Regions from separate parts of the Homo sapiens genome. Here regions 2, 3, 4, 5, 6 and 7 are each linked to region 1. The links are contacts of gene promoters, found by promoter capture Hi-C in blood cells and fetal thymus (Javierre and others, 2016). All regions are on one chromosome and are shown on one strand. Each heading gives the region's core, a stretch centred on a gene start or on the middle of the fragment in contact. The rest is flanking DNA. Distances are from core to core; before and after follow the strand shown. Region 1 holds the start of ZZZ3 (zinc finger ZZ-type containing 3). Region 2 overlaps ACADM (acyl-CoA dehydrogenase medium chain). Region 3 holds the start of LOC124904200. Region 4 overlaps LOC124904200. Region 5 overlaps ST6GALNAC3 (ST6 N-acetylgalactosaminide alpha-2,6-sialyltransferase 3). Region 6 overlaps ST6GALNAC3 (ST6 N-acetylgalactosaminide alpha-2,6-sialyltransferase 3). Region 7 overlaps ST6GALNAC3 (ST6 N-acetylgalactosaminide alpha-2,6-sialyltransferase 3).

Region 1 (3,909 bases), core at 371-2,870:
TTAATGTGTGTTGGGCTTTATTTTCCTACATGCTCAATATAGTTGGTAGATCTGTTTTGATATTACTGAGCACTGCTTTGTGCCAGACACAATTCTGGGGATACAGCAATGAGCAAAACAGTTTACTAAGTCCCTGCTTTTAAAAATTTTACATTTCTGGTGGTGAGGATACTGACAAATAAGGTCTGGAAGTTGTAACTGTTATGAAGAAATAAAAGCAGGTGAAGAGTTAAAGCAATGGTGCAGGTGTACTTTTTTTGGATACAGTGGTCTGGGCAGCCCTCTGAGAAGGGACCTGAAATATGCATCGAACATCGAGGAGTTAAAAAAAATCTGGAGGAAATGTTCTGCCAGAGAAATCGGCAAGCACAAAGGCCCGAAGTGGTTCGAGCCTGCGTGCTGTGGTACAAGCCAGAGGTGAACGAGGCGAGGCAGAAGCACGATCATAAATACATGTATGGATGTTCTCCTGGCTTGAGACCACAGTGCTAAGGGAGGTGGGGTTTACAAATCTCTCAGGAGGCCACAAAGGGCAGGATGAAGCCGATTTCCAATGGCGGAGCTACGAGGACGCCTTTCCTCTGCTAGGGCCAGGTTGGACGGTTGCAAGGGATGGACTGCAACCCGCCCTCGGAAGACCAAACTTCGCCCAGGGGCAGGGACTGGCCGGGGAGGGCCTCGGCGGCGCCCGACCCGCGGGCGCTGCACGGGCCGCGGTTACCAGCAGGCGGTGTAGTGAGCGCGCCTGCAGCAGCAGCAACAGCAGCAGCAGCGGTCGCCGCCGCCGCCGCCGCCCGCCAGTCCCAACGAGGAGAAAGGAGGGGACCGGAAGGAGCCGCTGGTGCTGCGGGAAGTGGCAGGAGCGGGAGGCGGGGACCCACCTGGAAGCGCCGCGGCGCCGCTATCGAGCTTCCTGCAGCGGTGGCCACCCGAGCAAGTGCCGTGGCGGGGGCGGAGAGCGGCCACGGCGGCGGCGCCTCCCCAAGTGGCCCGTTGCGTCCGACCCCGCGTGAAAGGTGAGCAAGAGCTCGGGACACGTGGTGAGGGCCAGACACGGGGGAGGGAGAATGAAGGGGGAGGGAATGGGGGTGGGAAACGATCGGCTTGGGACCCGGATTTGGAGCCAAGTACCGGGAGGGGGTGGGCTGGAGGCGACGACTGCGACGGCTGCGACGGCTGCGACGGCGAAGCCCCCACGTGGGGCGGGGGTGCGCGCGCACGTGTGCGCGGGCGAAAGGGGGGGCGGGGAGGGCTTTTGGGAGGGCGTCGGGAGCGCGCTCGCTCAGTAGCGGCCCACGTGACGGGCACGCCGAAAATGTTTCCACGTGACAGGGAGGCTGCCTGGGGCAGCGCACTGCGCTCTGTTTATGTAGTATAATCGTGGTAATCGGAGGTTTTTAAGATTTCTGCTTTTCTGTACAAGGGGAAAGGAGGAGACGTATAAAGCGGAAAGACTTCCTACTGTCTCAGTGTTTTAAATGTTCACTACTCCGTTAGTGAAGTGCTTTTTAAGTTCCGAAATACTGATTTTTTTCTGTACCGCCATGTTGGGTCTAGTGGAAGCTCGCGAGATGCGAGTGGGTTTGTATCGCGAGATCTCTCGATTCTCGCGGGACCTCGTTGGCAGAGCAGTTGTCCTGGATGGCGGAGCCTTGGGTTCCGGGGGCCTGGGACCTGCAACTCTTTCTACAAGGCAAGTCGTTAGGGAGGGGCCCGGGGCGAGTGCCTCTTGGTGCCGGGATACGTGCTGCATCAGCTTCCCATAGTCTTGAAGGGAATACAGTAACCCCATTGAGGCAACACTGCCCTCCCCATCCCCCTGCGGGCGCTCCACCACCTGCAAAAGCATATGCACCCCTCAGCCAGGTCCTTCTCCCCACGCAGTGATAGTTCCACCCTGTCCCACTCACTGGAAGTCCGGGAGCCGTGCTCGCGCAGACCTGATGATTCCATTGGATACCGTTCCTCTTACTTTAAGATGTTCTTGTCAGTTTTTCCCTTCTTGCCATTTTCTAAAGTATTCCAGACCGGTTAACTATTGTGTCGCGTTTTCTGCTGCAGTACCTGACTCCAGTCTCCTGAAACAGAACTCCTCCCATCTATTTTCTCTGGGTGTCATTTACTCATCACCCTGACTTCGTATTTTCAGTAACTTTTGGCAGTATTTGGAGGGCCCATTATGTCTCTGACAACACCTGTGGTCAGAATAAAATCCTGCTTTTCATCATTTTGTACGTGCCTATTAACTCAGTTATCGGTAGGGTTTTAATTACTACTGTGTTACTGAGGTTGCCATCTTTGAAGTTTAGGGATGGTTGTTTTAGGTTATATATTTAAGGTAACAGACTGTTTCATGTGATTTTTTTTTTTTTTTTTTTGAGACGGAGTCTCGCTCTTGTCGCCTAGGCTGGAGTGTAGTGGGGCGATCTCGGCTCATTGCAACCTCCGCCTCCCGGGTTCAAGCGATTCTCCTGCCTCAGCCTCTCGAGTATCGAGTAGCTGGGATTACAGTCGCGCTTCACCACGCCCGGCTAATTTTTGTGTTTTTAGTAGAGACGGGGTTTCACCATGTTGGCCAGGCTGGTCTCAAACTCCTGACCTCAAGTGATCCACCTGCCTTGGCCTCTCAAAGTGCTGGGATTTCAGCACTGTACAGGCGTGAGCCACCGCGCCCGGCCTCAGGTCAACTTTTTAGTAAAGAGCAAACTCATAAATTTTGGCATCAGAGTTTGAGCTTTATTTTTCTTAAATGAGTTTGAAATCAATTTAATATTTCTCTCCAATTCCCTAATGTCTCAGAAGTGAATTTACAGTATACCTTTGTTTTTTCGTATTCTTAAGTAGTATTTGGATTTTATTTAGTAGTTGCAGTACTAAATAAGGAGTGGGGAGTTAATTACAAAACGAATCAGGTGACTAGTTAATTTATTCATAGTTTGTTTTTTAAAACTACAAAAGTGTTTTTTTTTCCTATACATAATACAGAGAGGTATATAGTATAGAGTAACACAGTGCTTGTTTCACGGTACCACAAAGTTCCATTCCTCAGTCTTAAATCTCTGTAACCAGCCTTTGTGGTTGCTGTGTATCATTCCAGATATTTCCATATTTTGGTTTAGTTTTTGTTTCTTAAATGAAGGGGAGAAAGTGTTGTTTTAATGGGGTACCAACACAATATTGGCAATCAGTAAACATTTTTTAACTAAATTAAATTTTTATTTAGTGATATATGCCTGTTTGTCAAGACTTACGTATGCATACTTACGCAGATTTTTTTTGTTTGTACTGATTTTTTTGGTAGTATAATCTTGTGAAAATATCACAAGTAACTTATTTTTGCAGTAAAGTTGATTTATTGTGCTTGGTAGCTTTGCACAGAAAGAAAGTACATGTAAAACAAGATTTAAATAAATTAATGTTTTATCACTTGAGTTTTATATTTTTATCTTTAATGTGTGTTATGTATTTAACTTTATATATTATATATTCTAAACTGTAACCTAACTATATAGGAGTTTTTCAGACGTTTTAAAAGTTTATCACTGTGATTAAAATGATAGTTTGACCATGCAACTTAGTGATCTCAATTGGAGAGTGGTAGACATTAGTAGTTAGTACAAACAAAGGTATATATACTTGAAGTTGCTAAGCGGCTATCATTTTGTAAGTGTTGTTTTTGTAATTTCCCCCCGCCAAACCTACCAGTAATAATATTTATCAGACCAGTCACATAAGAGAATTGTCCACTCTTTGGGCAATGTGGTTTTTTGTTGTAACAGTGCAAGTAGAAATGTTGAGGAATAGAAGTGAGTGTTGAGAGGTATGATGTTGGAAAGAGGAAAAGGGGACATTGGGAGTGTAGAGGTTGATACTGAAATGGAATTGGACAAGTTGGGGAGAAAAGAGGAA
Region 2 (3,909 bases), core at 720-3,219, 1.9 Mb after region 1:
TATCTGATGGGATATGTACCATTGTCTTTTTATTGGACAGACTGTTATACAATTGTAAATGTAGATGTTAAATTGTAAAAAAAAAAAAAAAAAAAAAGGAAAGTAATGCAACTGAACCTTAACTACAACTAATTTCTGCTCTGTAGAAAAGATGGTCCCATTAGGTTTATTGCCCTATACCAGTGATCCCCAACCTTTTTGGCACCAGGGACCGGTTTTGTGGAAGATAATTTTTCCACAGACACAGTGGGGGGTGCAAGGGGAGATGGTTTGGGGATAAAAATGTTCTCAGATCATTAGGCATTAGATTCTCATAGGAGCACGAAACCTAGATCCCTCATGTGTGCAGTTCACAATAGGGTTCGTGCTCCTATGAGAATCTAATGTTGCCACTGATTTGACAGGAGGTGGAGCTCAGGCAGTAATGCTTGCTCGCCCAACACACACCTCCTGCTGTGCAGCACAGTTCCTAATGGCCCAGAGACTGCTACTGGTTTGTGGCCTGGGGGTTGGGGACCCCTGCCCTATAGGATATGGTCAATCTACTAGCAAATTCTTTTTTTTTTTTTTTTTTTTAGACAGAGTTTCACTCTTGTTGCCCAGGCTGGAGTGCAATGGCACGATCTCAGCTCACTGCAACCTCTGCCTCCCAGGTTCAAGTGATTCTCCTGCCTCAGCCTCCCGAGTAGCTGGGATTGCAGGCATGTGCCACCATGCCTAGCTAATTTTGTATTTTTAGTAGAGACAGGGTTTCTCCATGTTGGTCAGGCTGGTTTCGAACTCCCCATCTCAGGTGATCTGCCCGCCTTGGCCTCCCAAAGTGCTGGAATTACAGGCGTGAGCCACCACGCCCAGCCTAGCAAATTCTTTTAAGCATTTATTACTGCCTCTATCTGCTCTTTAAATTCTCCCTTATACCAGTTTTAACTTTGTACTAGTTCCCTCATCCAATGAGTTAAATACAGTCTTTCACATATTAAGAAAAGAAAAAACACTGTTGCCTGTGGAATTTAATCTTTAATCTCCAAAGACCCTTTGTACTATTTGATAATATATTCAAATTAATGGCTGTAATTCTAGAAGCCATATCAACAACCATTTTTTTTTTAATCCAGAGGAGTCACTGAATAATTCTTCTCCCTCTATGCAAATTGATGACTCTGGTAGATTCCTTAAACATTCATTAAAATTCTGGTAAACCTACTAGATCACATGTAAAACTGTGCTTTCTCTAGGAACCATCAATTCACTGATGGGGGCAACTAATAGTCATGTTTGTAGTCCATGACTGTACCTACCCTCCTTCTTGTAATGGCCCTAGTCAGCAAGCTTATAAATGTGGTGGTCAATCCAAAATATAAATATGCTACCGTGAAGTCTGATTCTATTGTGGGATCAAAGAAGCAGAGAAAGTTAGACTATAGAGCAACAATGAATAAAATGACAGAAGTAGAGAGTTAGCAAAAGACTATATATATTTCATGGATTCCTGAGGACTGACTATTCTAGTTTTAGTCCCTTCCTGAGACTGACTTCATTCCTCCCTTTCAGACCTATGAGTCATTTCCACATACTTAAAATACATATTTGCTTAAAGAAGCTTAAATTCATTTACTTGTGACTAAAAAGGCTTAACTGATGCAAAATTACATAAGTGCTTAATATTTATTAGCAAGGATTCTATAATATTCTCATCATAAGGCTTTGGAGTACATTTATATCTTGTATAGAAACCTTTTCTTTTCTCTTTCCTTCCTTCCTTCCTCCCTCCCTCCCTCCCTTCTTTTGGAGTACATTTATATCTGGTATAGAAACCTTTTCTTTTCCCTCCCTTCCTTCCTCCCTCCCTCCCTTCCTTCCTCCCTTCTCTCTTTCCTTTTTTTTGATGGAGTTTCGCTCCTGTTGCCCAGGCTGGAGTGCAATGGCATAATCTCAGCTCACTGCAACCTCGGCCTCCCGGGTTCAAGCGTTTCTCCTGCCTCACCTCCTAAGTAGCTCGAATTACAGGTGCTCACCACCACGCCCGGCTAATTTTTTGTATTTTTAGTAGAGACCGGGTTTCATTATGTTGGCCAGGCTGGTCTCAAACTCCTGACCTTGTGATCTGCCCGCCTCGGCATCCCAAAGTGCTGGGATTACAGGCATGAGCCACCTTGCCTGGACCTTTTTTTTCTTTTTAGGGTCTCACTCTGTCACCCAGGATGGAGTATAAATGGTGCCATCACAGTTCACTGAAGCCTCAAATTCCTGCCCTCAGTGATCCTCCCACCTCAGAACCTCCCAAAGTGTTGGGATTATAGGCACGAGCCACCATGCCCAGCCCATGTCTAGAAGCTTTATGTTTAGAAATGGTTGGGCCTCTGTACTGCAAATTCAAATTTGCATTTGAAATATATACATTCTATTTAACTTCTCATTTCTACATAATACCCAATTAAGAATTCTCTAAATCTCCTTACCAATCTCAAGTTGTATCATTTAAATAAAATTTCATCATTGAGCATGAAGGAAATGTCATTTAAATATTTTATATTTGTAAGAAATTCGATTATTTTGGTAATTTAATGTGGTATAAGAAATTTATTTGGTCTTTGTTCCCAGGTCTTTGTTCCTGGCACAGAGCTCCTAAAACCCTTGGAATTTCTTGAGTTCTTGGAGTTATCTTCTGTTATTCCTTATAAACCTTTTCAATCATACCTGAATTTGGCATGAGATGACTTAGGGTGGGGCCCCTAGATAATCTCAGGAGGAATCTGGTCACCAGAAGGACTAAGTAATTAGAGGGTGATGTTATGGACTGAGTTGTGTCCCTCCAAAATTCCTATGTTGAAGCCTTAACTCCCAATGTGACTGTACTTGAAGATAGGATCTTTTAGGGAGTTAATTAAGGTCATGAGGATAGGACTCTAATCTCACAGGGCTAGTGTCCTTAGAAGAGGAGAAAAAGACACAAGAGCTCCCCCTAACCCAACCCTTCATGATGCACAGAGAAGAGGACATGTAAGGACACAGAAGGTGGCAGTCTATAAGGCAGGAAGAGAGGCCTCACTAGAAACAACCCAAATGGCACCTTGATCTTGAAATTCTAGCTTCCAGAACTGTGAGAAAATAAATTTATTTAAGCTACCAAGTCTCCAGTGTATTTTTTATGACAGCCCTAGGAGACTAATACAGTTGGGAGCTTCCAGCTTTCACCTTGGTCCTCTGGGGAGGAGTGGAGGACTGGAGATTGAGCTCCATGGAAACTATTGAATTTGAGCTGGGGAGCTTCCACGTTGAGGAATACAGAGACATGCAGGGAAGGTAATATGCTGGAAGAAGGCATGGAAGCTCTGCACCTCCCTTCTCCCTCCATACCTTTCCCTATGCACCTCTTCATTAATTGTTCCTAGTTGTACCCTTTCTGATATAAACAGGTAAATGTAAGTTAAGTGTTTTCCTGAGTTCTGTGAGCTATTCTGGCAAATTATCGACCCTGAGGGCAGGGTCATGGGAATACCTGAATTTGTAGCCATGTTGGACAGAGTATGGGTAGCTTGGGGAGTCAGGACTTGTGACTGGCCTCTGAAGTGAGGGCAGCCTTATGGGGTTGACCCTAACTCTGCTGCATAGTGTCAGAACAGAATTAAAATGTAGGACACAGTTGATGTCAAAGAACTAGAGAATGAGATGTGATGTCAGAAAGCACTCCATTTAGTATAACACAGTTTAGCAGTATTCGATATTTAGAATTACAAAGAAATATTAAATTCAGAGATTTGGGTTCTTAAATTATTTCATATTTATATTTTCTGAAGTCTTTAAAATATCTAATAAAAAATGAACAGGTAACTTTATTCAATTCAAAATTAAAACGACCTTTTTTCATCATAGTAAATACAAGAAATATACACTATTACACGAAGTAAT
Region 3 (3,909 bases), core at 408-2,907, 1.6 Mb after region 1:
TCCCCTTTTCTGTCTCTGAAACATGGAAAAACACTTTTGAAAAGCATGTTACTCAGTTAAAAGAACAGATAATACATGGATCAGTTACAGGGTTTGCAGTCTGCTCTCTCCCTCACCTCTCACGTGTACATCCCCCATCTACTAAAAACCAAAAGCCAAAACAAATAAACACAAAACAAAACAAAAACCCTTCTTGGGAAGAGCAGCTCTTCCTCTCTCCCCTCTCTTCCCAACCCCACCCCTATCAACTCCCAGGGAGGTTGGGAGCTGCCTTTGGGTCACTAGATTTCACAAATGAAGATCAAGGTACTTGTTAGAAATAATTAAAATAATGTGCAGAATTAAAGAAGACCTTGGAGGGGAGGGGAGGCCCTGTAAGTCAAGAGCCACCCTCCCGGCCAGGCGCAGTGGCTCACGCCTGTACTCCCAGCACTTTGGGAGGCAGAGGCGGGTGGATCACCTGAGGTCAGGAGTTCAAGATCAGCCTGGCCAGCATGGCGAAACCTCGTCTTACTAAAATTACAAAAAAAAAAAAAGTGAACCCAGGAGTAGTGGCAGGCGCCTGTAATCCTGGCTACTTGGGAGGCTGAGGCAGGAGAATTTCTTGAACCCGGGAGGAGGAGGTTGCAGTGAGCCAAGATCGCGTGATTGTACTCAAGCTTGGGTGTCAAGAGCAAAACTCCGTCTCAAAAAAAAAAAAAAAAAAAAAAAAACCGCCCTCCCCCACTCCTGACTGACTTCAAAACTCAGTTTGAAGTTGAGAGTTGAATCCAAGGAGTGGAGAGGGGAACTCGGGGAGTGGAGACATGCAGGCTCTATGGGCACTGGAAGCACGTCTGACACATAGGAGACATTTAGTAAATATTATTGAATTAATTAAAAACAACAGGAGTGGAGACAAAAATCTATGTGGGAGCTACAAATTAGATCTCCTTGTTTATTTTCTAAGAGTCCAATAAAGATTTGAATTGCTGTTAATTACTTTTGCTTGATGGATTGGAGTTCTTTCTGTGACACTCTGTGAGAGGAGAGAGAAAGAAATCAACTAGGCAGATAGGGCAAGGGTCCTAAGTAGAATTCCCTTCTAACAAAAAAGCAGCTTCTAACACAGAAAGGGGCCTCCTGTGTGACATACAGACATACAGTGGGCCCCAGTAAGCACAGTCCTCTCCCTTCTTGGAAATACTCAGACAAGGAGGTTTGCACAGCAGGGAGTGCCTGCAGCAGCACTGATAAGACGAGCTACCCTGGACCAGGAGCGTCCACTGTAGAGGGTCCCGCCTCCTGGCCTTTTTCACACATGCGCAGTGGGAAGAGATAGGCAACATGGAGTAACTCAGACTAAGGAGCCCGCATGAGCACTAGAAAAAGTGGGGTGGGAACTGTCAGAAATTTGAGCCTTATGTAAATGAAACACCCTCCCCACCAGCTTGTCTATAAAAACCCTTGCATTTCATTGTAAAATGGCAACCCATCTTTCTGGGACCCCTCTCTGCTCCCGAGAGCTTTCTTCCTTTCGCTTATTAAACTTCTGCTCTAACCTCACCTTTGGAGTGTCCGCATCCTTGATTTCCTCTGCCGTGATAACAAGAACTTCCAGTAATACCCAGACAATGAGGCTGGTTTCAACTCTTTGCCCTGGCTTTTATTCAAGTTACATACACACATTGTCATCTGCCACGCTGGGAAATTGATATCACTTAGTAAACCACAAAGCTGGTGTTAGAATGGGGTTTGTGACTCTTGTGGATGAGCATCCAATGACAAGATACATTTGCTTTTTACATATAAATATGTCTCCCTGGCCGGGCGCGGAGGCTCACGCCTGTAATCCCAGCACTTTGGGAGGCCGAGGCTGGTGGATTGCCTGAGGTCAGGAGTTCATGTGTGGCCAACACGGTGAGGCCCCTTCTCTACTAAAAATACAAAAAAATTAGCCGGGTGTGGTGACGTGCGCCTGTAATCCAGCTACTCGGGAGGCTGAGGCAGGGGAATTGCTTGAGCCAGGGAAGTGGAGGTTGCAGTGAGCCGAGATTGTACCACTGCACTCCAGCCTGAGCGACAGAGCAAGACTCCGTCTCAAAGAAAAAAAAAAAAAAAGTCTCCCCAAGAAAACCATAGAATGCTTACCATTTTAACATGTTATTTTAGAGAGGTGATAGTGCCAAATCCCTTATTACACAGGTACTAAGTTATAGACTTCCAGATGGAATGTAAGGAAATACAAAATATTTTTAATGAAGCAGTAGAATGAAAGTAAAAATGGGTGAAATGTATTTATACTTTGAAGAATAGCAGTTGAACATCTCTGGGTGCCAGACATTGTGCTGGGTGCAATGTAGCATTAGGAAATGTGGTTAGAGCATCAGAAAATCAGAAATTCTGATTTACATTAGGAGTGTGGTAAATGCATTTCTATCCATATGAGAATATAAGTTGAAATCATATAATTCCCTCCTTCTGGGAATGTTAACCTCCCTCTTTGGGGAATCTCGTCTCTCCCTGATTCTAGACATGCGGAGGTTCTAAAGGGGGCTTTACACGATAGGGCCCCGTTGTTTTGGCCACAATTGATGAGTCCAGAGATGGGCATCTAACCCAAACCAGCTAGAGATGTTGCTGAAGGTTTTGCTTCTCATTATGTAAAGAAGCTTGTCTGGAAAAAAAAAGCGGGGAATGGGGAGGTGGTGTGCAAAAGAAAAGGAAAGAAAAAGAGGGAGAGAAAGAGAGGCCTGAGAGAACAAGAGTCCCTAGCTCCATGGGCCTGTGCTCAGCCACACCCCTGCTTTCTCCTGCAGACAACTGAACTGATAAATTTCCATTTTTTACTAAACTAGCTTGAGTTACTTTTTTTTGTCACTAGTATTCAAAATGTTTCTAACTAATATACTTAATATGTTTAAAGTGGTATATATAAATAAGCAAGGGGCTTTGCTAAGCCAAAGAATTATTTTATGAGCCTTAAAAAAATTGACTTTTGAAACCAAAGCCTGTGTTTAAAATCCCAAGTTTATTGCTCACTAGTGGAGTAATCTTGGGCTACTGCCCTTGAACTGTGGTTTCAATACTACCTATAAAAAGCGATAAATACATACATTTATAGATACACATATATGTATATAACTTTTTGTCCTAAGGATCAAATGAGATAATATATATTAAACACTGTAAGTATAGTTCATTCTGTGAAAGGTGGTCATTGTTTTATACCCACTCTGATGATCCTGAATTAAAGGAAACAAAAGTTACAGACACGCTGTTGCTATACTGAAAGAATGTGGGCTGGAATGATTGAGGGAGTTTAAGAACATTCCTCAGTCAGATGGGGAGAGAATTATAGCCATGTTAAGTGAGCTCTTGGTAATTATTCAGAGCAAAGTCAGCAGAATTATTTTGCCACAGATAATACAGATAAGGGACCTGATAGAGTAAGTAGATTACCTCCTTTAGAGCTAATGCGAAACTATTTGGTAACATGAGAAAGAAAGTGGAAGAAATAGCACTTCTAGAGGTAACTAATGCTTTTCTGAAGATTCCTGGTTTTTTCCAGGGATCTCAGCATATCAACTGGACAACTTGATTAGACTCTATGTAGATACTGATGTCTGCGCATAGTCAGTCACTAGAGAAGGTGCACTAGTGGATCACTAGAGAATTATAAAAAGAACCTTAACTATTAATTTATGCAAAGGATTCTGGTAAGTTGTCTTAGATGAAGAATATGGTGCTAAAATTGCATCATTTGCAATCCTTGGTTGTGTGAACACAGTGTCACACTTTCTGGATTGATGATCTGCTTTTCAAAATTTGGCCAGTGGTTCAGCTATTTGAAGAAGTTATAAAGGCATCATCACAATGTTTAACGAAAGTGTAAAAGATCATCTGGGGCATCTCAGATTAATGCCAATT
Region 4 (3,909 bases), core at 502-3,001, 1.6 Mb after region 1:
GCTGTGAATCATACAGCTGGTAAATATCAAGGGGTAACATTACTGGGTATATACCCAAAGGATTATAAATCATTCTACTATAAAGACACATGCACACATATGTTAATTGCAGCACTATTTACAATAGCAAAGACTTGGAACCAACCCAAATGCCCATCAATGTTAGACTGGATAAAGAAAATGTGGCACATATACACCGTGGAATACTATGCAGCCATAAAAAACAATGAGTTCATGTCCTTTGCAGGGACACGGATGAAGCTGGAAGCCATCGTTCTCAGCAAACTAACACAGGAACAGAAAACCAAACACTGCATGTTCTCACTCATAAGTGGGAGTTGAACAACGAGAACACATGGACACAGGGAGGGGAACATCACACACTGGGGCCTGTCGCAGGGTGGGAAGCAAGGGGAGGGAGAGCATCAGGACAAATACATACATGCAGAACTTAAAACCTGGATGACGGGTTGATAGTTGCAGCAAACCACCATGGCACATGTATACCTATGTAACAAACCCGCACATTCTGCACATGTATCCCAGAACTTACAGTAAAATAAAATATATATATATATATATATATATATATTAAGGTGTAATACAAAATCCAATTTTCATGCTCTAAATCAAGGATCAGCAATCTTTTTTCTGTAAAAGGCCAGACAACAAATATTTTAAGCTTTGCTGGTCTCCCTTACGAAGAATCAACTCTGCCATTGTAGTGCAAAAGTAACCATAGACAGTATCTTAATGAATGAGCGTGACTGTGTTCCAATAAAACTTTATTTCTCCTAAACAGATAGTGGGCTGGATTTGGTCAGTAATTTGGACTGTAATTTGTCAACTTCTATTCTAAACCACTATGCTTTAAAAATCTGAGAAGGTAGAAATCATAAGACATTGACAGGTAAAAAATATTACTGGGCTTCAAAGGAGGGAGACATTATAGCTTGGGTTACCAAAAAAGGCTTTATAGTGGAGGAGGTGATTTAGTGGGGTTTGAAAGATAGGTTAGATCTATCTACATGTGAACACCAGAGCTTTGGGTATCTCATGCAAAGAGAATAATGAGAGTAAAATTATGGAGACAGGATATGGAGTGGGGTACATAGAGTAAGAAGAGATAGTTCAGGTTGACTGAGAAACAGATATGTAGACCAGTGAGATAAGAAAAGTGGGGATTTTGTTGGATGCGATGGCTCACACCTATAATTCCAACATTTTAGGAGGCCAAGGTGGGAGGATCACTGGAGGCCAAGAGTTCAAGACCAGATGGGCAACATAGTGAGATCCCATCTCTTATAAATAAATAAATAGATACATAAATAAGAAATGTGGGCCTTTCATTAGATAAAAATATCTGGAACTGAAAAACAAGAGTTTTATTTCATAGAAAATTGGAAACCACTACATGTTTGTGAGGAGAGGGGTGGCATAAGAGAGGGAATAGTTATATATGTTATGCTTCTTTATGATGATGAGAGACAGTTGTGCCAGAGGGGTCAAGAATTAACCTGGGCCATCATGAGTGAAGATGCATTTCTAGTCATTGCAGTAAACTAATCTGACTGGAAAGGGCCCCAGTGAAACACTTGAAAAGTTTCCCCCACTAGAGTAATGAAATGAGAAGACATGTTCCCAACTGCCTACACAATGAGTGGAAAAGGATCGACTGCAAGAATCGGAATCTCAAGGCTAGGTGGTGGATTCAAACTACTTGCTCATCACCTGTTAGTCAGGAATTCAGGCTGGGCTTCGCTGGTTGGGCTCCTTCTGCTCCACTCGGGGCTGGGCTCATTCACTCCCTTGCTTTCAGCTGGTGGCTCCAATGAGCTGAGTAAGATGGAGAGGGCCAAGAAATCTTCACTTTCATGTTTAATTCATTGATATGCCATTTCCCTCTATATGTAGACAGCATGAGCTTCTCCACCACATAGTGGTCTCCAGTTAGTTATGCTTCTAACACGATGACTGGCCTCCAAAAGGGAGCTCTCCAAGTAGTGAAAGCAAAAGTTGGGAGTCTCATAAGGCCAGTCTTGGAAGTGATGCAGTGTCATTTCTGCCACATTCTGTCAATCAAAGTCAGTCACAGGCAGCTCAGAATCAGGGGAAGGGATCATAAACTCCACCTCTTGATGGAGGAGTGGCAAGATCACATTACAAAAGAGCTATTGGGAGAGGGTCTATTGTTGTGGTCTTCTCCAGAAACACAATTTACCACAGAAGTTTAACATAAAAATTAATCTAAGGCCAATGAAACCTCCAGGGACCTGGCAGAGGCAAACCCCAAACCACTTCTGTAGTTCAGGCCTCATGGGGGTCCCATGGTAAACAAACCTTGTTGAAAATGTGCTTGTGATCAAAAATTACAAACGACATAAGGAAACAGGACACAGATACAGCAGAGAGCAGAACTGGCACACCATCACCTGGAATAATGGAAGAAAATGAAAGAGATTTAGAAATAAACATGATTAACATGTCCAAAGAGCTAAAGGTAGAAAATATTAAAAAACACATAGGCATGCTTGAAAAGGATGAAATTGAAATCATAGTGACAAAAAGTATACTCATTGAAATAGAAATCCCAACACAGGTGACAAAGAATTAATGAAATGTAAGATAGACCTAGGGAAATTATTTTAGCACAAGTGCAGCACAAATAAAAGAGATATTAAAAACATGAAATATCTAAGGGATATTAAGATACTAAAAGGTTAAAATAAGAGTCTAATTCATACATCTAATAGGAATTCCTAAAGGAAGGAATGGAGAGATTGGAGAACCAATATCCAAAGAGAGTGTCTGAAAGCTTTCCACAATTAAAGAAAGAAGTCATTATATTTAGTAATAAATCATAGCAAAATTTAAGCAAAATAAATAAAAATACAAATACACAACAAGACACATCTTACTGAAAATGCACAACATCCAAAACAAGAAGTAAACAAAGCTCCGGGGAGAAGAAAATAAGACACGGTAACAATGGAACTGACAGTCTTCTCAGCAATAATAGGTAGATAATAGAATAATGTATTTTAAATGTTGAGGGAAAATAGCTATCAATCTAGAAATCTTTGAGTATGCAACTGTTGTTAATAATTAAGGCTAAATAAACCCATGTTGTAAAAAAGACAGAAACCATCCGATCAGAATTTTGTTATTTAACTTTACTGCAACATGCTTTATATACAATAAAGTACAGCCATTTTAAGAACACTGTTTGATCGCACTCTTGTAACTACCACCACAATCAAGATACAGAACATTTCTGTCACCACGAAAGGTTTCCTTTATTCCTTCCCCAGTCAATTTCCCCACCCCACCCTTGGCCCCAAGTAACCACTGCTCTGCTTTCTGTCACTATAAATTAGATTTATTTTTTCAAGAGTCTTTTAAAAAATGCTTTTAGACTGCATGTAATCTTTGTGTCTGGCTTCCTTCACTCTGCTTAATGTTTTTTGAGATTCATCCATGTTATGTGTATCACTAGTTTATTCCATTGCACAGAAAAGAAAACTGATGCTTCAATATTAATTCCAGACAAAAGAAAACTTAATCAGAAAGTACTGTTAGGGCTAAAGAGGGGCTGTATATAAGAAAATTACACCAAGAGAGTAAAATAAGCATGAATGCACATGTTTCTGTCACTAAAACGACAAAGCATTTAAAGTAAATCTGATAAAATTACAAAGACAGTCCAAGTGCAGTGGCTCATGCCTATCATCCCAGCACTTTGGGAGGTCAAGGCAAGAGGATTGCTTGAGCCCTGGAGTTTGAGACCAGCCTGGGAAACATAGTGAGACCCTGTCTCTACAAGAAATTTTTTAAAAATTAGCCAGGCATGGTGGTGCATGCCTGAGTACCAGGTACTTGGGAGGCTGAGATGGGAGGATGCTTGAGCCC
Region 5 (3,909 bases), core at 704-3,203, 1.6 Mb after region 1:
GAGAAATTAACAAATTTGGGGTTTAGCACCCCCTTTTTTCTCTGCTCAGGTGAAGGCGCTAATTGGCAGTAAAAGGCATAAAACGTGTACATCAGAATGGCTGGAGGCAAATGGGGTCTGGATAATCCATAAACTGAATAATGAGCCTTTTAATAACCAGGAGCTAACTGCAGCTTTTGGTAATGGGATCCAGGTAGCACTTGTAAATCTACTCCCTCCAATTAGAAAAATGCCTTCCTCCACTGTTCCCTAAAGCCAGGAAACAGAAAAGAACCTCATTCAACTCCCAGCCCTCAGGCATAAGTGTGTGTTAAATTCTTACAAACAGAAATTTTTCTCCTGGGGAGAAGCTTTCATAACTTCGCTCAGTCGTTTACTAGAAAGCTTAATAGGCTTCCCTGTTTTCCTCAGACCTAAACCCCTTCTTTCTCCCACTAGTCCTTCAACAAAGGTTTCCTCGATTCCAGCTATTATCAGTACTAATAATACTAATAACGTTTTTTGCCATTTCCACTTCATGCCTATGCAGTGCACTCTGCTTTGCAAAGTGCATTCACAAGCATTATCTCTTTGGTTCTCCAACACCACCCAAGGGACAGATCTATGTTGGGGAGCCTGAAATGTATACGATTTGTGGGATTCCTTGATAAAATGAATATAAAATTATAAATACCAAAATGCTAGTGTCTCTTCCCAGAACCTTGGAAGGGCCCTGAAGCTTGCGTTCAGGGTAAATCCAACTCTCCCTCACTCCCACCCCCAAAAAGGACACATAGGTTCACATAACTTGCCCAGGGTCAAAGATCTATTCAGAATTAAACAGAATTAAAGCCTTCTTATCTCCTCAGTCTTTGCAGCCCCTCTAGTTCCTCTAGTTCTTCTGTCACAAAGGAAACTTAAAGGAACAAATAAAAACGACACAGCTAAAAGTGGTCCCCATCAGGCCACCAGATTAGGAAGTTGTCTAGACTGGATATTGTCTGGGGTAGAAGATGGTGAAATAAATTCAGAATCCCTATAAATATTTACTAAATTGGCACTGAAGGTAAAAGACAAGCTCTATAGCTTGTCCAACCCGCAGCGCAGGACAGCTTTGAATGTGGCCCAACACAAATTTGTAAACATTCTTAAAACATTATGAGATTTCTTTTGCGATTTGCTTTTTTTTTTTTTTTTTTTTAGCTCACCAGCTGTCATTCGTGTTAGTGTATTTTATGTGTGGCCCAGACAATTCTTCTTCCAATGTGGCCCAAGGAAGCCAAAAGTTTGAACACCCCTGCTTTACAACCACACGAAGTCAGGGTGAACCCCACCTCCATCACTTACTGACCACAGGACATCGGACAATTTACTTAGGTTTTCTGAACTTCAGTGTCTTCATTTGTAATAAAAGTTTACTTAGCACAGAAGCCAGCCTGAGCACTCTGGCTGTTCAATAAATGGCACCTATTGTTGCTGTTGTTATCAATCCATCCAAAGAGCACTACTTTTACCCAAGCCACTCATTCCCCACAATGTGCTGATATACGTAGCAAAAGCATCTGCTCAGTCACTGTAAGACTGGAAATTAGGCCAGGCAGCTGCTGAGAATTCAGCATTTCCTGGGCAGCAATAAGAAATGTCATAGCAGATTTATTAAATGAAGTGACTTGTCTACTTGCCAGGGTTATCCTACGGTTTCAGATTTATCATCTGTGTACCTGTGAAGTCCCTGTGGCTTTCCAGTCTCAGTGAAGCCATACTGTTTTCAAATGCTTTGAGACCTCATCGTTTGAGAACCACACAATCATTTGGTTGTGGGTGTTTGGTTTTTGATTGTTTTTTTTTTTTTTTGGTTTATCTGTTTCTGTTAATCTGGGGAACCAAAATGATCATGACAAAAGTTAAACCACGCCTACACTTCTCTTTTTCCCTCCTTCTAGTCCAGTTCTCTCATCTCCCCATCCCCCCAACCCCAGATCTTAAATTGGCCCCAGATTTTATATGAGGAATGGTAACAGACCTACCTACAAGAAACATACTAAGAAAAAATTTAAGGAGCAAACTAATCAACAAGCTCTAATCTGCCTGCTATACATTAGAGTAAAAAATCCATGCCACATCCTTGAAATGCTCAGCTGTTTTCAGAAGACAGGTTGGACCTGTGTCTATAACTGACATAAAAAAAAATTAATAACACCACTGATACATTCAGCAAACACTTAAGGATCACCTACTGAGAGCCAAGCTAGTTCTTAGAAATACCAAGTTGAATAAAACAAAGCCTTTTCTGCCTTTTACATTCAGTTCAGTAACCGTCAACACCCCACCCATATACTCCCATACCATGAGGTGTAATTTTCAAACTCCTCGCATACTTTTAATTACTAGTTTAATTATTTGCCTTCTCACTGAGTCTATAATCTCACTTAGGGTAAGAACAGAACTCAATTACAGATGCTCAGTAAACACTGGAAGGCCGCGGCTCCCTAACATTTGATAGTCAAAGAAGAGCTGGGCATGAAAGCAGTTTATTGACAGTACATGGTAATACCTGCTACTACAGGGACAAGAACTAAGACCACAGGAGCACAGAGGAAGCCTGCTGAGGCAGGGGATGGCCTGACCACAGATGTGACTCTAAAGTGGGAGTTGAACAAGGCAGGGGGAGTAAGGATGGAAAGTAAGGGGCAGAGTTGAGAGGTTTTCCTGAGACAGAACTGATGCACTGTGGAGAAGGATTAGATCTGGGGCAGGGGGAGGAAGAGGAAATGAGAAGACGCCAAGTTCCTAACTTGGTATCATCATTCATCTAATTACCTATCAATCAAGATAAATATATGAGGACAGGTCACTGGAGAGAAGGTAATTGTGGCTTAGTCATGCATCTATCGTATCAGCTAACTGCTTCATGTTCATAAGCCTCATCAACCTGGCAAAACCATAATCTTCTCGAAGGCAGAAATGATTCTCAAGGATCTTGTGTCTACATGTCCACTCAATGTCCACTTCCAATATAAAAGTTAATACAATTCACCTATATTTTTTAAAAATGAAAGTGTACAAGACACTGTGCTGAAAATGTACCTGCTGACCAAGGGTAGAAATCATAAAAGAAAATATGGATAGATTTTCTTGCATAAAATTTTAAAGTATCTATAATTTATAAAAGAAGAAAGACAAATGACTAATACAAATTTAAAAGCTTAACTTCACTAATGATCAAATAAATACAAATTAAAGCAAAGAGTTTTCCTGTCTATCAAATTTGAGAGACTTTTTAAACAACCCCACGAGATCTTCCCTGTAATCTGTCTCCTGGAGCTGCTGAAAACAGAGAATCTGACAAGGGCTCTGGGGCCCAAGAAGACATCAGAGCTGCTTAATGAAAAGAGACTGGTCCTAGGCCAGGCACGATGGCTCATGCCTGTAATCCCAGCACTTTGGGAGGCCAAGGCACACAGATCACTTGAGGCCAGGAGTTCAATACCAGCCTGGCCAACATGGTGAAACCCCGTCTCTACTAAAAATACAAAAAATTAGCCAGGCATAGGGGTGCATAGCTGTAGTCCCAGCTATTTGGGAGGCTGAGGCACGAGAATTGCTTGAATCCAGGAGGCAGAGGTTGCAGCGAACCAAGATCACGCCACTGCACTCCAGCCTGGGCAACAGAGTGAGACTCTGTCTCAAAAAAAAATAATAATAATAAAGAGACTGGTCCTTGAGTTGATTCTTTATTCAATGGTAGAGCTACACAGGAGAGCTGCCTAACCAGGAGCATGGCAAGAAATGAACCTGCTAAGATTCAGAGTTTCTTTTTTCCCCCTGCAATATAACTAATATACAGATTATCTCATTTAACCTTTAGAATAACCCATTGAGGAATGCATGATTCCCATTTTGGAAACTGAGGTAGTGAAATCAAGAAAC
Region 6 (3,909 bases), core at 792-3,291, 1.6 Mb after region 1:
TTTTCTTCAGAAACACACACACACACACACACACACACACACACACACACTATGTCTACAGATTTCAGAACTCATTGCACTGGTATTACCATTTTCAAAATGACCAAGACTTTTGCAAATACTTAACCCACTACACCTAACCATTAATGAGATTTACTTTTTCTTCCCTCCTATGATAATTTGTTTCGATCGAGGGATTTAAATTTCCCATAAAATAGTTTAGAGACCCTTCATACCCAGGCTCAGAAGACAACTCCTGTAAAGACTGATCCTTTGCTACAGATGCCTTTGTGATCATAAGTAATTCCACACAGTTACCTTGTTTCTTTAACCATCTCTTAAAGCTTCAGTGATGAGCAAACACAACTTGGCTGAACACAGTTCCATCAAAGAATCTGAGCTGAGTTTCTATCTCTATTCACAATGGAAGAGGCCTTGATTTGGAGATTAGAATGTGATTAAACAAGAAAGGTAGTGCACCAAGCTAGGGGTCCTGGCTGGCAGTCCTCAGATGGGCTTCAAAGGATCTGTGAATCCCTTCAAATTGCATGCAAAACCATGTTATGTATTCTGTGAATTTTTGTGAAAAAAAGAGCCTGTAGCTTTCAATAAAAGGGTTGGTGGCTCAATGAGATTTAGGAATCTTGAGGCACATAGACCAGTAACTGCTTTGTGAATAAATGAATAAATGCACTCAGAGAGAACAGCTTCAGTTCACTGCTAGGCTTGACCTTCCAGATCAAACTCTTCTTTAGAGGTGATTTCAAGAAGACAGTGAGAGACTGGTGGTGCCAGACCATTATTACACATCTAAGAGTCAGCTGACCGTGTCACAGTCCTGCCTCCCACCTCTTACAGCAAACATTACTTTACTCTTCATCATTTTCAACTCAAACAGCCCAAATATATAGCTAAAATCGCAGCTCTTTTCCCTAATTTTGAAAATCAATTCAAGTATTAGAGATCTATAGCCTCAATGCCAGGAAATATAAATGTCTACCGACAAAATGCCAAGGGTACAGGTTCTGAGGATGATGAAAGGGCATATAGGAGCAAAAATGGGCCAAAAAATAAAGTACATTGGGTGTAGAGAGAGGGAGAGGACAGAAAAAAGAATGTAGATCTGCCATAGAAGCTTCCATTCTTCTCCACATTGCATCTTCCTATGAGCCCACACACATGGGTCGCCCATAGTGTTCACCCGCAGGGCTGTATTTGAACAGGAGGTGGGCTGGCGGGTGGGGCAAGAGAAAAGAGGGCTCAATCGCAAAAAGCTCACACTGATTAATAAGGAAGGAACTGGAAATGCAAGTAGGAAGAAAAAAAGCCCCTGTGTACTATGAATAATAAGACAAAGATAATACCACATACAAGAATATTTATAAGGCAAGGAGATAATCATGGTACCAAAGAAAGTAGAAAATTGGTTAAGAATAGAACACAACTTTGACAATCAGACCAATCTGGGTTTGAGTCTTGGCCATACCTTCTAAAATTGTGAGCTTAGGCAAGTTATTTAACTCTTCAGAGCCACCATTCCTTCTCAGTGAAATGAGGATAAAAAGAGGACAGATCTCATTGGATGCCTGATTATTATAAAAAAAAAAAAAAAAAGCAAAAGTGTGTTTAAAGAATAACATGTCTGATTAATACTTAATATGCAATAACTGCTATTATTCTCATCAACCATTGTCTTCATTGGATTAGGCAGGGAAGAAGTTAGTCAGGAAAGAGGGGCTGAGTTTGCTCCAGACTTGAAGAAATGTTTGCAGTACAGCTGTAAACCCACAATGTAAGTTCTCTCCATGACCAACCCAACCCCACCCAGTTGGTGAAGACCCTGAATGAAGCCTGTGTTTCTTTCCATAAACTCATGACTGAACAGCATGTGGTAATTACCCTTCTGGCTCACAGGAATGGAAAAATAGAAGTTAATTTCTCAGCAAGATAGGAAGAATTTGTCTTCAGACTCTATGTACAAGTCTTGAGCAACGGGAAATGTATCCATGTTATTACCTCAGAGTAAATGCTGCCATGCACACTTTTCCCATGACAATGGCAGTGAGCCTAGGGAAGGAAAGATACTTCAGAAATGACACTTTTATTTATTTATATACTTCAGCAAGTTGTTTTCAATAATTGTTCTGTGTCCTGGGTTTTTAGTTGTTATTGTTGCAAAATTCACTCTCTTCCATCCAAAACTTAATGTCCCTCATGTTTAGATTATGGATTTTTCCGTGTGCTTAATTCAAAAAGAAAAGAAAAGTATGTTGTTGCTGATGATCCACCTCACCCCACCAAGTGACATGACTGCTTCAGCATTTGAGGAGCATGGGTGCACCATCCAATTCCTACACAAAGCATTGGGGGCCATCAAATGGAAAACACAATTATCCCAAGCACAAGGCACAGCACTGAAGTCAAAGCACAGCCTTAGACTGCCTCAGCGAGCTCAAAGTCCCAGCAGCATTGAGTAGGAGGGAAAATGGCAAAGAGTTTCCAAAGTTATCTTGTGGATTTATCAAAACTCTCTTCTGTCAGCCCCTCTTGCACCAACCAACATGGTTCAGCTCATTTTTCCAAGGGATGAGGGCTAGAGAGGAAACAAAGAAAGACTGCCCTGCAAGACAAGGATCTGTTATAACAACAACATTTTTAGTCTTACAAATAAATCAACTAATTAAAAGAAAAAATTTCCCATTGGATTTCATTATCATGACAATAATAACAACAACAAAAATATAAGATTTATTGACCACTCATTATGTTCAAGGCCCTATGCCAGGTGTTTTCATATACATATGAATTCTAAAAGACAAGCATTCTTGTTGTCATTTGACAGAGAAGAAAATAGACCCAGAGAGTTTAAGAAAAGTGCCTAATGTCACAGTGATGATAAATAGCAGAGCAAATACCTGCACACAGTTTGGTACGACTCCAAAGCTTATACTCTTTCCATGTTACCTGACAATTCTATTTTCTCCATCATGTGAAGAATTGTCTCTCATAAAAAAAGCTAATCGTTCCAGTTTAAAAAAAAGAGTAAGAAAATTATTTGAAGTGGTATTTGTACAATATTTTTTTAAATGTAATAGCCAGACGGTAATAGCACTAGCAATCCAGGATGTATTTTATAGGGCTATTAATATATGCCTCGAGTGGTCAAAGGCTTTGCCACTCACTTGAGGCAAATAGTAATGGCCAATAAAACTTGCCTTGTCATGTCTTAATACCACATTGTATCATCACACTTGTAATGAAATGCTCTTAAACTTCAGTGTTATCAGAAAGGAAGAAAAAGTGGTAATTAAATGAGCTAGCAAAATGAGGAGGAAGTGTGGAAAAGTGGAGAGAGCCCTGAGTTGAGACCTTGGCCTAACTCTCCCATGCACCTCTGTGACCTAATCTCAGGATGTCAGCATCTCCATCTGTAATCTGTGGTTCATTACGACAAGCCAAGACTTCCTCCAGCTCCCACAGTCTGTGGTTCTTCAGTGAATTCACATTCATTTAACAATAGCTCACTGAAATCATCTAGGGGCACACCTGTGCTAGAAGCTCAGGACAGCAGTAACCAAGGCAGAAGTCTTTGTCTCTGATGCTGGCCATTAGAGGTAAGTGGATGGCTGTGAGTTGAGATATTGCCTTGCTTTAAAACTTTCTCTTCTTATAGGTTGTGAATATTTCCATGCAAATTGTGACAAAATCTTGATAAGAGTTGCATTTGAGTGATGGGGGAATATTTGGACTATTCCCTCCACTTCTGTAATTTTTGGAATTTTTAATCATAAAAATGTAAGGTGGATAGATGAGAAAAGCTTCAGAGAGACTACTGCTTCTGATAATGACTCACTAGATATGCCAGATAAAACTTTTGATATGATTTGGCTGTTTCCCCACCAAATCTCA
Region 7 (3,909 bases), core at 539-3,038, 1.5 Mb after region 1:
CACTGACTAAAATACTATAAGGTTTTAGAGTAGATTGGAATCAGTTCTGAGTTAGTCAAAGGAAGCTTCATTAAAAAGAGAAAAAGACTTAAGGTAGGCACTCAAGCTGCTTTAGGATTCAGCACCCTGAGAGGGAATCTAGAATAATGACAGTTGCCATTGATTGAACACCTACAAGACCCACGCAGGACTTTTCTCAGCTCTTCAAAACAGAGCGCATGCTCTCCGGTCTCTGAGTCCACACACATGCTATTCCCCTGCCTTGGACAGTCTTTCCCCAGCTCTGGGCCTGGTCACCTCCTCTTTGTCCTTCACGTCAACCTTTAATACTACATCCTGTATGGTATTCAAGGTAACTGAGAAGTTTTATGTGACCCCTAGACCTAGCTGGGCCCCCTTGCTAACTGCTCACCTGGCACTTACATACATTGCCCCTTTGTAATTATTTGTAAATATTTACTTTAAGGCTTGTAACTGTTTATGGTTATACATCCATTAGACCCAGCTGGGTGTGCTCACCACTCTACCTCCAGGACCAACTCATAATAGGAGCTCAATAAGCTGGCTCATGATTGTCTTAACCAGGCATCCACAAATTTTATCTCATTTAAACCCTCACTACAACACTGTAAGGTCAGTACCATTATTCCCCCATTATACGGTGAAGAAACTGGGGCTTAAAATAGCTAATTAACTCACCCGCGTCCTGCAACAGAGAAAACAAAACTTCAGCCAGGTGTGCCTGACAGCAAAGGCCATGTTATTAATCATTAGGTCATACTTTCCTTCTGCTCATAAACAAAAGCATAAAGGCAGGGATAGAATGGCATTTCATGGTGCAGAGAGACTTATCTGGCTACAACGGAGAATGCGCATGCAACAGATTCAAATTAAACATTTCTTGAGTACCTGCCATATGCCAGGGACTAGGCTGAGCATCTTTTACATGGATTATCTTATTTATTCTCACAATAACCCATGGGTTTAAATTTATTATGTCTATCTTATGATGGAGAAATACAGAGGTTAAGTAACATGCCCATTCACACAGCTGTTAAGCAGCAAAGCCAACATATTAAGCTGTAAGTTTGGGCAATGATGCAACCACAGTGGATTTTAGAGGATTTTGGAGCACAGTTTTTGAAGACCTTTTTTTGCCTGGCCCTGTCCCCAATTTGAGTGCCAACTGTCTGCCAATTGGCATTGGCAAATGTCGATTTCCAACTTTTTATGACCAACCCTGATCTTCAGTTAAGGGTTTTTGACCAAAGCCTGACAATATTTGACTGAAGCACTAATGCAAACTCTGGAATTAAATAACATTTAGAAAAGAAAGCCCAGTAGAAATACACAGACCCAGCATGAGGCACTGTGTTTAACTGGTGTATGTACAGACCCTGTCCAAATCAATGGGTGTCCCTTTAAGGCCAATTACGTAGCTCATTGTTGGGGCAAGCCAGAGTTAGGAGAGCCAAATTACAGAACAGCCCTCAGTAAAAAGAAATGTAAAGCTCTTTTCTCCAGAGATTGGGTATTATCTTCCCAGCAAGTACTTTAAGACATCAGCATCGGCCCATCTGCAATATAAATTTAGATCTCAGTAGAGTATGTAAAGCATCCTTGGGTGATTAGCAGAGAGAAAAATCTCCAGAGGTCCCACCATTAAATGAAGACCCACAGCACCTATCCTCCAGGGAGAGTGGAACTTGTTCTGCAGCTCTTGATGAAGGACTGAGGGGAGCGGCAGGGAAGCAAGCAGCAAGGGTCAGGAAACCTAGGTGCTGCCGCTCTCTGCCGCTTACCAGTTCTGTACCTCCGACAAATCGAAAACCTCGGGGTTGCAAAGAATCTTGAAAGTCTGTTAGTCCAGACACTTTACCAATGTTTGAATCCCTTTAATAACATGGCTGCTAAGTGATAATTTAGTTTACACTTTACACTCAAGTGATAGAGAAATCATTGATTTCATTGCCTCTCCAGTGCTCTATCACTTCTGAGAACCTTGGAGAAGGAATAATGGCCCAAGTGTTAGAGGTTGGAAAGAATCTGAAGTCTGAAAGGCAATAGCACTTAACAATGCTGGAGAGTAGCAAGAGGTCACCGGCCCATCTCTACAGAAAGAGTTATCAATTATTAATCAAGGTTAAGTACTCATGTAAGTTTCCAAAACTCAAAAATTAAAAGATGGGTCCTTTACATAAGTGGCTTGCCTGTAGAGTAAAAAGAAACCTCTTAAAATGTTGAAACTTTAAAATAAATTTTTCATCTACAAAATTCAGCTGTAGAGAAGAAGATATTTGAAGTATAGAGCAAGTAAGATATGTTGATTATACAGCAGCATTACTCTATTTATGGTTGTGGACTGGTGAAAGTCCACATGTTGTTTGTGGGCTGCAAGGAAATAAGAGCTTGCACTAGAATCCAAATCAACTTTGTCACTAAGCACACTTTTTGCTTCAGTAGACTGTGTGTGTGTGTGCACCAAGATTTTCTCCGTGATGGAAGCAATGCATTGATTTATATTCTGGTGCAAGCCCCTTATTTTGGCCCAAACAGTAATGAACAGTTCACAGCCTGGCTAGTTTGTAGAACACCGTTAGAGAGTAAGATGGGTGCCTCCTATATCAACAGGCACACCAGTGGGATTTTAATGACCCTTGTGACACCTCTTTCTTCACTCTGTGAAGCACCAACCCCCAAAACCACAAGAAGCCAGCACTTCTACTGCCACATCCCAAAGCCGATGCATGATCTCACCTAGACTATTGCGAGGCCTTCCAGCAGGCCCTCCTGGCTTTCAAATGATTCTGACACATGCCCAAACCAGCCTTCACACTGCTACTACAGGAACCCTTTTGAAGTGTATCTAGACACAGACTCCCCTTCTTAAAATCCTCTGAGAGCTCCCCAATGCTTACGGCATTAGCTTTAACCTTTTAAGTGTAATAGCCAACCACTGCCTGCCACTCTTGACCTCTGGGATTACTAGCCATTCCCTGAACACATTATATATTTTCATCCATCTGTGTGTCCACTCACATTCCTTCCTCTACTTGGAATACAATTCCTTTTCTATCCACCTATAAATTCCTACTCATCCTTGAATATCAGTTCAGAAAATACCTTCTCTGCAAGTTTCACCAACAATCCTACAAAGAGCTATGCATTCTGACCTTCTCTGGAAGGCAGTTTAGTGCCATCATTAACAGGGCAGGCTCTGGAACTTAACTCTACAATTCCTATCTTTATAAAGATTGAGCAAGTGATTTAACATCTCTGTGCTTAGTTTCCCCATCTGTGAAATGAGAACAACCACAGTAATTCCTTTGTAGGGTTGATGGGGAAATTAAATTAGCTAATCCATGGAAAACCCTTAGCACAGTTTATGGCATGTGTAGGTATTCTGTGAATTATTGTGTTCTGAAAACACTTGTTTTTATCTTTCAGACATTATGTTGTGTTATACTTAGTTGTTTTCATGTCTGGTTTCTCCAACATATTACAAGCTTTTAAAGGGCAGACCTTAATGGGTCTCATCTATCCTTTCATCTTCCCTAACACAGTGTTTGGCACATAAACAGGCATTCAATCAACTGTTTGCACAATAAATGCAGTAGAACAGAGAGTGGTGAAGCCAGAAGCAGGCTGACCCCAGGCACCATGCAGAGCTCAGAAGGCAGGTCAGAAACTGACTCAGGGCCCAGACCGGGTGCGGTGGCTCATGCCTGTAACAACAGCACTTTGGAAAGCCGAGGCAGGCAGATCACTTGAGGCTAGGAGTTCGAGACCAGCCTGGTCAACATGGTGAAACTCTGTCTCTACTAAAAATACAAAAAATTAGCCAGTGACATATGCCTGTAATTCCAGCCACTTGGGAGGCTGAGGCATGAGAATCTCTTGAACCTGGGA

The links. Contacts are between HindIII fragments. The CHiCAGO score rates a contact against its expected background, and 5 or more counts as called.
Region 2: a fragment that was not itself captured here is called in contact with the fragment with the promoter of ZZZ3 in region 1 in 1 of 17 cell types (naive B cells); the score reaches 5.1 in naive B cells.
Region 3: a fragment that was not itself captured here is called in contact with the fragment with the promoter of ZZZ3 in region 1 in 1 of 17 cell types (erythroblasts); the score reaches 5.0 in erythroblasts.
Region 4: a contact is called between a fragment that was not itself captured here and the fragment with the promoter of ZZZ3 in region 1, in 1 of 17 cell types (erythroblasts). The highest score is 6.7, in erythroblasts.
Region 5: a contact is called between a fragment that was not itself captured here and the fragment with the promoter of ZZZ3 in region 1, in 2 of 17 cell types (neutrophils and monocytes). The highest score is 6.7, in neutrophils.
Region 6: a fragment that was not itself captured here is called in contact with the fragment with the promoter of ZZZ3 in region 1 in 1 of 17 cell types (total B cells); the score reaches 6.1 in total B cells.
Region 7: a fragment that was not itself captured here is called in contact with the fragment with the promoter of ZZZ3 in region 1 in 1 of 17 cell types (total CD4 T cells); the score reaches 5.3 in total CD4 T cells.

What each region holds. Positions count from the first base shown.
Region 1 is chr1:77,680,369-77,684,277 of GRCh38, reverse strand. It overlaps ZZZ3 (zinc finger ZZ-type containing 3), which reads left to right and starts at 1,620. Exons shown (of 15, transcript NM_015534.6): 1 at 1,620-1,693. RefSeq lists enhancers at 365-464, 1-667, 1,485-1,564 and silencers at 615-674, 685-1,104. The HindIII fragment of the contact is 10,120 bases long and covers 1-3,909 here.
Region 2 is chr1:75,763,528-75,767,436 of GRCh38, reverse strand. It overlaps ACADM (acyl-CoA dehydrogenase medium chain), which reads right to left. Exons shown (of 12, transcript NM_000016.6): 12 at 3,758-3,909. Among named protein-coding and RNA genes, the nearest start is that of RABGGTB, 21 kb to the left of the region's middle. RefSeq lists an enhancer at 3,011-3,070. The HindIII fragment of the contact is 734 bases long and covers 1,603-2,336 here.
Region 3 is chr1:76,037,891-76,041,799 of GRCh38, reverse strand. LOC124904200 reads right to left here and starts at 436. Exons shown (of 5, transcript XR_007066173.1): 1 at 117-436; 2 at 1-15. The HindIII fragment of the contact is 1,992 bases long and covers 662-2,653 here.
Region 4 is chr1:76,054,036-76,057,944 of GRCh38, reverse strand. LOC124904200 reads right to left here. Exons shown (of 5, transcript XR_007066173.1): 3 at 2,341-2,432; 4 at 1,732-1,836. Among named protein-coding and RNA genes, the nearest start is that of ST6GALNAC3, 19 kb to the left of the region's middle. The HindIII fragment of the contact is 2,133 bases long and covers 685-2,817 here.
Region 5 is chr1:76,078,557-76,082,465 of GRCh38, reverse strand. The region is part of intron 1 of ST6GALNAC3 (ST6 N-acetylgalactosaminide alpha-2,6-sialyltransferase 3); the gene reads right to left. Among named protein-coding and RNA genes, the nearest start is that of ST6GALNAC3, 5.8 kb to the right of the region's middle. The HindIII fragment of the contact is 2,466 bases long and covers 721-3,186 here.
Region 6 is chr1:76,105,003-76,108,911 of GRCh38, reverse strand. All of the region lies in intron 1 of ST6GALNAC3 (ST6 N-acetylgalactosaminide alpha-2,6-sialyltransferase 3), which reads right to left. Among named protein-coding and RNA genes, the nearest start is that of ST6GALNAC3, 32 kb to the right of the region's middle. The HindIII fragment of the contact is 1,808 bases long and covers 1,138-2,945 here.
Region 7 is chr1:76,159,278-76,163,186 of GRCh38, reverse strand. The region is part of intron 1 of ST6GALNAC3 (ST6 N-acetylgalactosaminide alpha-2,6-sialyltransferase 3); the gene reads right to left. Among named protein-coding and RNA genes, the nearest start is that of ST6GALNAC3, 86 kb to the right of the region's middle. The HindIII fragment of the contact is 3,441 bases long and covers 68-3,508 here.